Regions from separate parts of the Homo sapiens genome. Here regions 1 and 3 are each linked to region 2. The links are contacts of gene promoters, found by promoter capture Hi-C in blood cells and fetal thymus (Javierre and others, 2016). All regions are on one chromosome and are shown on one strand. Each heading gives the region's core, a stretch centred on a gene start or on the middle of the fragment in contact. The rest is flanking DNA. Distances are from core to core; before and after follow the strand shown.

Region 1 (3,996 bases), core at 1,396-3,895, 1.1 Mb before region 2:
AATGCTTACTTTGGAAAAGAATGTGGCAATTCCTCAAAAGGTTAAACAGTGTTACCATATGACCCAGCAAACCCACTTCTAGATATATAACCAAAAGAAATCAAAACATAAGTCTACAAAAAAACTTGTACATAAATGTTTATAACAGCACTATTCCCAATAGCCATAAAGTAGAAACAAACCAATGTCCATCGGCTGATGAATGAATAAATAAAATATGTTGTGGTATGTCCTTATAATAGATATTATTGGTCCATGAAAAACATACATAAAAACATTATGCTAAATGAAAGAAGCCAGTCACGGCAAAGCAATATATTATATGCCTCTATGTATACTAAATGTTCCAAATAGAAAGAAAGTAGATTAAAGATTGTCTAGGGCTGGGAGGGGAGGAGGAGGAGAATGGAGGAATCTGGGAGGCGATGAATTAAGGGTACTGAATTAGGGGAACATGGTTTCTTTTTGGGGAGATAGAAATGTAAAATTTTGGTAATGGTTGCACATCTCTGTAAATATACTAAAATCCATTAATTTTTGCATTTTATTTTATTTATTTTATTTTTGAGACGGAGTTTCGCTCTTGTTGCCCAGGCTGGAGTGCAATGGCATGATCTCGGCTCACCACAACCTCCGCCTCCCAGGTTCAAGCGATTCTCCTGTCTCAGCTTCCCGAGTAGCTGGAATTACAGGTGCATGCCACCACACCCAGCTAATTTTTTTTTTTTGAGATGAAGTCTTGCTCTTGTCTCCCATGCTGGAGTGTGATGGCACGATCTTAGCTCACTGCAACCTACGCCTCCCGGGTTCAAGCGATTCTCCTGCCTCAGCCTCTAATGTAGCTGGGATTACAGTTGCCTGCTATCACGCCCGGCTAATTTTTGTATTTTTAGTAAAGACGGGGTTTCACCATGTTGGCCAGGCTGGTCTCGAACCCCTGATCTCAGGTGATCTGCCTTCCTCGGCCGCCCAAAGTGCTGGGATTACAAGCGTGAGCCACTGAGCCGGGCCAATTTTTGCATTTTACATAGATGAATTATATGGTATGCTAATTATATCTTACCAAAAATTGAAAAAAAGGAATAGTACTATCAGCCCCAATGTGCCCATCATCAATATTCTACATGTTTCCAATGTTATTGTATCTGTTTGCCTACAGTCGAGGCCCTGATATCCTGTTTGATTTTCTTGAATTGCCAAAATTTGCATACATGCTTACAAAAATAATGCCTGTTGAATTTGCTAGATATGTAAAGGTTTGGAGCAAATCAGGTGTATTAAATTTATTAATATTGTTTGAAATGTCTAAGGCAATAATTCCCAAACTTCGTTGAGGGAGAAGGAAAGCTTTTAAAATCCCATTGCCCAGGTGGCATCCCATACTGTTACTGGGAATTATGCATTGGGATGGATCCTTTAACCGAGGAGATTATTATAGCCGGAGCTCTGAACCAGCAATCTCAGTTCTTGTGATAGTGAGCAAAGAACTACAAACTAACACCAAAATGCAAGCTTAAAGCAAAGTTTATTGAAGCACAATAATACACTCTGAGGGACAGCGGGCTTATTTCTGCGAAGTGAACTCAGCACTTCTTTACAGAGCTCAAGGTGCTTTTATGGGGTTTGTGGGGAGGAGTTGAGGTTTGGGCTGTATCTGAGTGACAGGATGATGTTATTTGATTGAAGTGTATAGCTATACAATCTAAAATTAAACTGTGCATGGTCTTACCTATAATTTGTTAAGAAAAGCCTCCCAGGGATGGGGGGGCAAAACTGTATGTAAATTCTATTATAATGATGGCATGATGAACTTGGGGTGAACTTGAAGACAGGCTTTTGTGTTGTTGGGCATGTGCCACCTTAGGGAATTTCCACCTGTACCCTCCTTTCTCTTTCTCCAGGATATTTTGGCCACAGACTTTATCATAAACTCCATCCCTTAGGGTGGCATTAGGGTAGTCTTGGGCCTGAATTTAGGTGGGCCAGTGGCTGTCTTAGTGACAGCCTTTCCGCTCTCTTCTGTCATCCCCTCCCAACTGCTAATGTCTAACTACCTAACAATTACCCATTAAATCAGTGTGTCTGGGGTTAGGAGCAGGCCTCAATATGTTTAATCATTCTCCAGATAATCCCAATACTGTAAAGTTTGTGAAACACTTGTCAGATAATTCAATTATGAAGGCTGTGGAAGGTGTTTCAGTAGGATCTAATTGGTTAATGTTATGACTTAATTAATTTGAATCAAAAAACAAAATGAAAAAGCTTTATATTTCTAAGTCAAATAAGACATAAGTTGGTCTAAGGTTGAGATAAAATTTTTAAATGTATGATTGAATTTTGAAAATCATAAATATTTAAATATCTAAAGTTCAGATCAGAACATTGCGAAGCTACTTTCCCCAATCAACAACACCCCTTCAGGATTTAAAAACCAAGGGGGACACTGGATCACCTAGTGTTTCACAAGCAGGTACCTTCTGCTGTAGGAGAGAGAGAACTAAAGTTCTGAAAGACCTGTTGCTTTTCACCAGGAAGTTTTACTGGGCATCTCCTGAGCCTAGGCAATAGCTGTAGGGTGACTTCTGGAGCCATCCCCGTTTCCCCGCCCCCCAAAAGAAGCGGAGATTTAACGGGGACGTGCGGCCAGAGCTGGGGAAATGGGCCCGCGAGCCAGGCCGGCGCTTCTCCTCCTGATGCTTTTGCAGACCGCGGTCCTGCAGGGGCGCTTGCTGCGTGAGTCCGAGGGCTGCGGGCGAACTAGGGGCGCGGCGGGGGTGGAAAAATCGAAACTAGCTTTTTCTTTGCGCTTGGGAGTTTGCTAACTTTGGAGGACCTGCTCAACCCTATCCGCAAGCCCCTCTCCCTACTTTCTGCGTCCAGACCCCGTGAGGGAGTGCCTACCACTGAACTGCAGATAGGGGTCCCTCGCCCCAGGACCTGCCCCCTCCCCCGGCTGTCCCGGCTCTGCGGAGTGACTTTTGGAACCGCCCACTCCCTTCCCCCAACTAGAATGCTTTTAAATAAATCTCGTAGTTCCTCACTTGAGCTGAGCTAAGCCTGGGGCTCCTTGAACCTGGAACTCGGGTTTATTTCCAATGTCAGCTGTGCAGTTTTTTCCCCAGTCATCTCCAAACAGGAAGTTCTTCCCTGAGTGCTTGCCGAGAAGGCTGAGCAAACCCACAGCAGGATCCGCACGGGGTTTCCACCTCAGAACGAATGCGTTGGGCGGTGGGGGCGCGAAAGAGTGGCGTTGGGGATCTGAATTCTTCACCATTCCACCCACTTTTGGTGAGACCTGGGGTGGAGGTCTCTAGGGTGGGAGGCTCCTGAGAGAGGCCTACCTCGGGCCTTTCCCCACTCTTGGCAATTGTTCTTTTGCCTGGAAAATTAAGTATATGTTAGTTTTGAACGTTTGAACTGAACAATTCTCTTTTCGGCTAGGCTTTATTGATTTGCAATGTGCTGTGTAATTAAGAGGCCTCTCTACAAAGTACTGATAATGAACATGTAAGCAATGCACTCACTTCTAAGTTACATTCATATCTGATCTTATTTGATTTTCACTAGGCATAGGGAGGTAGGAGCTAATAATACGTTTATTTTACTAGAAGTTAACTGGAATTCAGATTATATAACTCTTTTCAGGTTACAAAGAACATAAATAATCTGGTTTTCTGATGTTATTTCAAGTACTACAGCTGCTTCTAATCTTAGTTGACAGTGATTTTGCCCTGTAGTGTAGCACAGTGTTCTGTGGGTCACACGCCGGCCTCAGCACAGCACTTTGAGTTTTGGTACTACGTGTATCCACATTTTACACATGACAAGAATGAGGCATGGCACGGCCTGCTTCCTGGCAAATTTATTCAATGGTACACTGGGCTTTGGTGGCAGAGCTCATGTCTCCACTTCATAGCTATGATTCTTAAACATCACACTGCATTAGAGGTTGAATAATAAAATTTCATGTTGAGCAGAAATATTCATTGTTTACAA
Region 2 (3,667 bases), core at 947-3,446:
TTGCTTTCATAGAGCTTTGGATGGTAGTCTCTGCCCACCCATTCATTCATTCTGCAGCCAAACTATATTGATAAAGAACCTACCAAATGGGGAGCCCTAGTGATAGATTATTGAACAAAATAGATATTCCTCGTCTTGGGGCATATGGAGCGGGAGGATGGAGGCTGACATTAATCAAATAACTCTGGTATTATACATTACAAACTGATATAAGAGCACTAAAGGAAAAGTGAAAAAGAATCAAGTGGCCGGGCATGATGGCTCACGCCTGTAATCCCAGCACTTTGGGAGCCCGAGGCGGGTGGATCACTTGAAGTCAGGAGTTATAGATCAGCCTGGCCAACATGGTGAAACCCCCTCTCTAATAAAAATACAAAAATTAGCCCTGCGTAGTAGCTTACGCCTGTAATCCCAGCTACTCGGGAGGCTGAGGCAGGAGAATCGCTTGAACCCGGGAGGTGGAGGTTGCAATGAGTCGAGATTGTGTCATTGCCCTCCAGCCTGGGCAACAGAGCGAGACTCTGAGAAAAAAAAAAAGAAGAAGAAAGAGAAAGAAAGAAAGAAAAGGAAGGAAGGAAGAAAGAGAATGAGAGAGAGAGAAAGAAAGAAGGAAGGAAAGAAGAAAAGAAAAGAAAGAGAGAGGGAAGGAGGGAGGGAGAGAGGAAGGAAGGAAGGAGGGAAAGAAGGGAGGGAAGGAAAAAAAAAAAACCAAGGAACCATGTGTTGCGTGGAGACGGGAGGTCAAGAAAAGCTTCCTTGATTTGAAAAGCTTTCTTGAGTTGAAGCTGAAGCATTAAACAAATTTAACCAGGTAAAGAGAAGAGGCCGGGCGCGGTGGCTCACTCCTGTAATCCTAGCGCTTTGGGAAGCCGAGAGGGGCGGATCAGTTGAGTTCAGGAGTTTAAGACCAGAATGATTTTACAGAAAGAAAATCATTTGGTATCAAGGGGAAAACACGACCAGGACCTTGACTCTAGAGGCTACGTTCCTAAAACAGCAAGCGGGGCAGGAGGGAAGTCCCACGGAGCTTTGGAGCCACAGGAGAGGCACTTTTATCTCCCTCTTCTGGCAAACTAGGTATGAAAGGGAGAAAGAAATTTCACTCTGAGGTGCGAGCGCCGCCGGACATTTCCTGACGGCTCAGGTGGGCAGGCTGAGTGCGCGAGCGCCTCACTGGCTTCTCATAGGTACCTGGGTCAGGACGAAGCCACATAGTTCCTCGTGATGAGAAACTCACTTCTGGCACCTGTCGAGATGCCAGATTCCATGCCAAGCCCCCGAAGATTCTGACTAGTTTGGCAAAAAATGGGATCTGGCAGGTCCACTTCAAAGCAGCGCCCTCTTCCTTTTGTTGCCAAAGATCTGAGGACCACACTGCTAAACTGAGCAAGAAACATGCGTGGGTTGGAGATAGAAGTGAGAATAATGAGTTTACAAGCACAGTATTACCAACCCCCAAAAACAACCACCACGCTGGGAAAATTCCATATAATGAAACTTAATGTGTTACCTTTGGCTTCTTTGCCATAAGCAAAATATTGGGGACGGGGAGTGGATAAGGAAGTAAACTGGGTAGGTGTGTAAATAAGGACGAAAGACTGCACCATTCTTTAGATGACAAAAACAGACGTTTCTGGGAAATAAGCAAAGGAAGAGCCCCACAAGCAGCGGCCTCTGGTGGCGTGCCGTGATCGTATAGTGGTTAGTACTCTGCGTTGTGGCCGCAGCAACCTCGGTTCGAATCCGAGTCACGGCAGTACCTTGATGTCGCCTCAATTTCTCAACGTACTGAGCAGTACCTTGACGTCGCCTCAATTTTTCAACATACTGGAGTGGAGACAGTCTCGGAAAAACCCTTGCAAAATTGAATTGACTTACGATCTAATCTGTACACAAAAAACACTAGTATTCATCATGGTGCCCCAACCAGTCAGCCAAGCAGAGAGTGTCTACGCTTGTTGCCTTGTCTTTTTTTTCCCCTCTCCAAAGATTCTCTTCCCAACCCTACCCAAGCCCTACAGTCTTGTTGGCATTGGCTGTATGTGAAGAAACTGAGGTAATTTTTTTTTAATGGAAAACTTTTACTTTCAAACACTGGTAGGCATGAGGAAAGGACTGTTCAAAAGGGGATCCAGGTTTGTTGTGGAGATCTTTCTTAAAACACAAAAGACAAATTATTAATCACGCGTTTCTAAGTATCCTAGCTGGACCAATGCTGAAAAACTGTAACCTTTGATCATCTGGAGAAAATTAAAGAAATTTGAGTAATTGAAGGAATTTGGGTGGGGGGGAATAATGGCCCAGAAGAACAGCCCCCATTTCTAGCCCGTTCAGTTTCTAGAATGAGTTCTAAAGAGCCAAGTAGACTGGGTGAGGCGGGAGTGGAGGAGAGCTGATCTGAGATACGGAGGTGGCTGGAAAGAAGTAGTTGGTGCTACCTAGGACCAGTAGGAGGTGGCTGGAGACAGGCAGATCCCCAGAGGCGCTTCCATGAGCCCAGTTCTAGTTAGTAGCACAGCACTCTGAGAACACATTAATGGCACTTCGTCCCTCCTGGCCCTGGTGGAAGGTTAGTATTCAAACAGGTGTGGTGGCTCATGCCTATAATCCCAGCACTTTGGGAGGCCGAGGCGGGCAGATCACCTGAGGTCGGGAGTTCGAGACCAGCATGGCCAACATGGTGAAACCCCGTCTCTACTAAAAATACAAAAATTAGCTTGGCATAGTGGCATAGGCCTGTAGTCCCAGCTATTCGGAAGGCTAAGGCACGAGAATTGCCTGAACCCAGGCAGTGGAAGTTGCAGTAAGCCAAGATCACACCACTGCACTCCAGCCTGAGTGACAGAGTAAGACTCGGTCTCAAAAAAAAAGAATACTCATACTTTTAGCAACTTATCAAAAATTTCAGCAAAAGAGATTTGTTCTTTCCTTCTTGGGGCTAAAATAGCCCCCATTTCTTCTCCAACTGTCCATCCAGCTGACATGGATTCTGAAACTCAGAGATATTGTAATTGAGCTGAGCTGCCTTATACTGTAGGATATCATCTCTCCAACAGGTCAGGTTCTAGGCCTCTTCTCAGTAATTTAATAGCATTTGTAGTGGTTATTCATGTTCACTTGTATCACATTCTACTTCAATTTTCTTTTTAGTCTATTTTATCTTGACTCAGTCTTACAAGAGTGAAGACAGGGATCAAGTATGTATTGACCCTAAAGGATCAGTTCTTGTCAATTATTTTGCCACAAGTGAATGATAAAACTGCTAAAGCAATAAACATTTTGATCTTGCAATTCTCCAGAACACATTTTCTCAGATCTTACTGGCCTGAGTAGCAGAAATCTATGGACTCTGACTCAGAGGCTATCTCTTAGTGAGAGAGCTAGGGTCCTAGATCTATTACAGAATAAAATTGTAGTGACAAGTGAGTAATAGGGCTCAATAAAACCCATGCTGTATGATTTGCTCGAAAAGTAGAGAGCTTGCTTGGCGTGTACCATATGATACTCAGTGCAAAGCACATGTTTATCTTAGAGGTGTGAAGTTCTCTGGTTCACAATAATGTTTTGCAGCTTTGAGTGAGCATTGCTAGAAATCTGGTATAAACAGGGGAATTGTGAGATTAAAAGCTTGCATTTTATGAATGCACTAATATTGGTATGGAAGTAT
Region 3 (3,587 bases), core at 753-3,252, 1.1 Mb before region 2:
ACTTAAAGTAATTCATAGGGTTACAATTGTATTAGACCAATAATATTAAAATAATTATCAAACCACTTGACCGTAATATGTGTGTTTTTGTTGATATACCTAATAGTACTTCGGAAATAAGCAAGCACGATTTCCAGATTCTTGCAACAACTATAACCTACAAATTTGTTATTTCTATCAGTCACACACAATGGAAGAAAATTCTAAATTTCAGCTACAGGATAATGAATAGATGAAAAACAACAACAACAACAACAACAAAAAAACTCCCCTAATCCATATTCTGGGACACCTTGATTCCTATTTATTGATCCCTTGAAGTCAGTGGATAGCATATTAAGAAACAATAGTTACAATGACACCACAGAAAGACTAGAATGTAGTACTTGTGTTAAAAAAAAAAAAAGTATCAGCAAGTTATGTTTGGATGCCAAATTGCTCTCCACTTCCCTTCCCTGACACTGGCATTTCCAGAACTTAGATGCTCTTACATGTAAAAGCCTCCTCTAGTGCACCATCGAGCTTTTCAGGATTGGACATCAGACTTTTTAGTTCCTGGACCTCTAGATATACGGCAGTCTCTGACAAGAAGCCCTTTTTCTGTTTTAACTTTTTTTTTTTTTAAGTTTTGAGACAACGTCTGACTCGCTGTCACCCAGGCTGGAGTGAGGTAGCACCATCATAGCTCACTGTATCCTTAAACGCCTGGGTGCAGGGACTAAGGGAGCGTGCCAACCATGCTTGACTAATTTACTTTTTTGTAAAACCAGTAGTCTCCAACCTTTTTGACACAAGAGACCGTTTTGTGTAAGACAATTATACCACGGACCAGGGGGTGCAGGGGCTGGGAGCAATGATTTCCGGACTAAAACTGCTCCAACCTCAGATCATCAGGCATTAGATTGTCACAAGGAGCCTGAAACCTAGATCCCTTGCATGTGCCATTCACAATACAGTTTGAGCTTATGAGAATCTATCTAATGCTGCAGCTAACCTGACAGGCGGTGGAGCTCAGTTGGTTAATGTTCGCTCACCCCTCAGCTGTGCGGCTCAATTCATAACGTGCCATGGACAGGGACCGGTTACCGGTCGGTGGCCGGGGAAATGAGGACCCCTGGTATAGATGGTAGTCTGGCTATGTTGCCCAGGATGGTCTTGAAGCCTGGCCTGAATTAATTCTCCAATCTCAAGCCTTTTCAACTCAGCTGCATCACAACTTAAACCTATAGATAACTGTCACAGAAACTTGTTTCCAGTGTTACGCCATCTTAAAATAATGTGGGTGGCTCTTAAAAGAGCCTTTGGGTTCTTTCCAAATTGGCCTCCCGGAAAGCTCTTTACTTCTTAGATGTGGCCTTTCTAACATTAACTTCATGATGTTGGGTCAATTTTGACTTCGAAGCCCTTGCCTTCACTGGGCTCTTCTGCTGTTGCTTACCCTTGGCTCCTTTAGCCTTTCTCCCGCTCCTAACAGTTTTAGGAGTTGTCGCTCTCGGCTTCTTGGCTCTCTTATTGGTTTTAGCAGTCTTTGGTGACTTGGAGTCCCTGGATAAAACCAGCTTCTTGGTCTTGGCAGAAACTGACTTTTTAGCCTTGCTTCTGGTAGATTTAGGAATCACCTTCTTACTAAGCTTAAAGGAACCGGAAGCACCAGTACCCCTGGTTTGCACCAGGATTCCCTTGTTCACTAAGCTCTTGAGGGACAGTTTGATGCGGCTGTTATTCTTCTCTACGTCGTAGCCAGCAGCGGCCAATGCCTTCTTGAGCGCAACCAAAGACATACCTACTCGTTCCTGTGACACTGAAAGGGCCTCGGTGATCAACTTGGACACAGAGAGGTTCGGCACTTTGCGACTTGCACTTATCAAGCCAGCCGGCTTCCTCCCTCGCTTCTTGGTTGGAAGTTTCTCCATAGCGGCTACACCAGCACTGGCAGAAGCTGCAGGCACGGTTTCAGACATAACAACAGAGAAACGCAAGATGTAATAACCAGCGAAAAGCATGAAACACCCGGGCGGCCTCGGGGCCTTATATAGGGTAGGGCGCGCTGTGATTGGTGCATCACCTAGGCACCGCCCCCGCCCCTTGGAGGAGGAGTATTTGTGTTTGTTTTACCCGGAAAAGTTGAGTATAACAAAACCCCTCTTTACAGAATCTCCCAGGGTCTAGTGCTGAATAATCTGCGGAAATTCATATTTGACATGACTTTTCTCTTTTTAATGAAAAATGACCCTGGATGCCAAAACTATTCGAGAAAGCCCTCGATTTTCAATCAAATTCACGGAGAGGAACAAAACTTCCCCTTTTCCTTGTAAATTAATAAGTAATCTTTGGCAGAAGACTTATTTCATCTCTTCAGAGTGGTCTTCCAAATGGATAGCTTCAAATCGGTAGAGGAAAGAAATTATTCACGCCATGATTTTTATTTAAAATTATTTATATATGTGAGGGAAGTAACACAGATCTCTTAGCTGTCTAATTGCGGAGTCAGAAGATGCTTATAGAATTGTCAAAAGACTGCAGAGGATGTCTTTATTTAGGCATGTGCAATCTAATAAATCATAATCCACAGGAACATGGGTTGTCTGTAATTAAAGGTGCTCCCAAGTCCCTGTAGCTTTATAGAGGACTCTCAAGGATGGGGTAATATCAAGATCTCACACATTATGTAAGATTGGCCATAATCAGGCCACTCTCATGACCGGTGTCCTCAACTGAGTTTTGCTTCTGGTTTCATTAATTGAAGTCCCCTCTATCCCCCTGCCCACCCCTACATCCCCAGATAAACAGACACAGTCCCTCCCCTAAATTAACTATAAAACATGAGGTAGGAACCCTAGACTCAAGAACCTACTAGAAACTACAGACCCCATGTCTAACAAGACTGGGCGGGTTGGCTGGGCGCAGTGATTCATGCCTGTAATTACAGCACTTCGGAAGGCTGGAGGCCAGGAGTTCAAGACTAGGTTGGCCTGGTCCCTACTGAAAAAAAAAAAAATTAGCTGGGTGTGGTGGCACATGCCTGCAGTCCCAGCTTCTGGGTAGACTGAAGAGGATCACTTAGAGCCCAGGAGCTTGAGGTCGCAGCTACTGCACTCCAGCCTGGGCAGACCCTCATCTCTGAATTGCTTAATTAATTAACTGAGCTGGCAGATTTGGCTGCATAGCTGTGGGGAAAGGGTTGTTGGAATAATGTCCAGTGTGCTCCCCTGAGCTTCTACTGGAACAGGTCTTTGTGAGAGGCCTGGAGATAAGAGCTTGCTCACAAAGGCTGAGGCCTTTCTGGGATGCTGAATGAGTTTAGTGTGGCCAGAGCATAGGGTCTCAGCAAAGGAAAACTCCATAAGGGCCATTTGTGAAGATCCCCAAATACTTGTGTGAAACATTTGGTAGATATTAGAAGTTTTGTTTTGGTTTGGTTTGAGACAGAGTTTTGCTCTTGTTGCCCAGGCTGGAGTGCAATGGTGTGATCTTGGCTCAGTGCAACCTCCACCTCCCAGGTTCAGGCAATTCTCCTGCCTCAGCCTCCCAATTAGCTGGGATTATAGGCGCCCACCACCATGCCTGGCTAATTTTTTGTATTTTTA

What was found. Contacts are between HindIII fragments. The CHiCAGO score rates a contact against its expected background, and 5 or more counts as called.
Region 1: the fragment with the promoter of HFE here is called in contact with a fragment that was not itself captured in region 2 in 1 of 17 cell types (non-activated CD4 T cells); the score reaches 5.7 in non-activated CD4 T cells.
Region 3: a contact is called between the fragment with the promoter of H1-6 here and a fragment that was not itself captured in region 2, in 4 of 17 cell types (naive B cells, total CD4 T cells, naive CD8 T cells and 1 more). The highest score is 5.8, in naive B cells.

What each region holds. Positions count from the first base shown.
Region 1 is chr6:26,084,784-26,088,779 of GRCh38, forward strand. It overlaps HFE (homeostatic iron regulator), which reads left to right and starts at 2,646. Exons shown (of 6, transcript NM_000410.4): 1 at 2,646-2,733. The coding sequence starts at 2,658. It also overlaps HFE-AS1. The HindIII fragment of the contact is 3,203 bases long and covers 2,261-3,996 here.
Region 2 is chr6:27,156,443-27,160,109 of GRCh38, forward strand. TRH-GTG1-5 (tRNA-His (anticodon GTG) 1-5) reads left to right here and starts at 1,685; the gene lies at 1,685-1,756. RefSeq lists a silencer at 1,796-1,845. The HindIII fragment of the contact is 2,858 bases long and covers 768-3,625 here.
Region 3 is chr6:26,106,133-26,109,719 of GRCh38, forward strand. H1-6 (H1.6 linker histone, cluster member) reads right to left here and starts at 2,003. Exons shown (of 1, transcript NM_005323.4): 1 at 1,280-2,003. The coding sequence starts at 1,961. The coding sequence ends at 1,338. The HindIII fragment of the contact is 5,524 bases long and covers 1,630-3,587 here.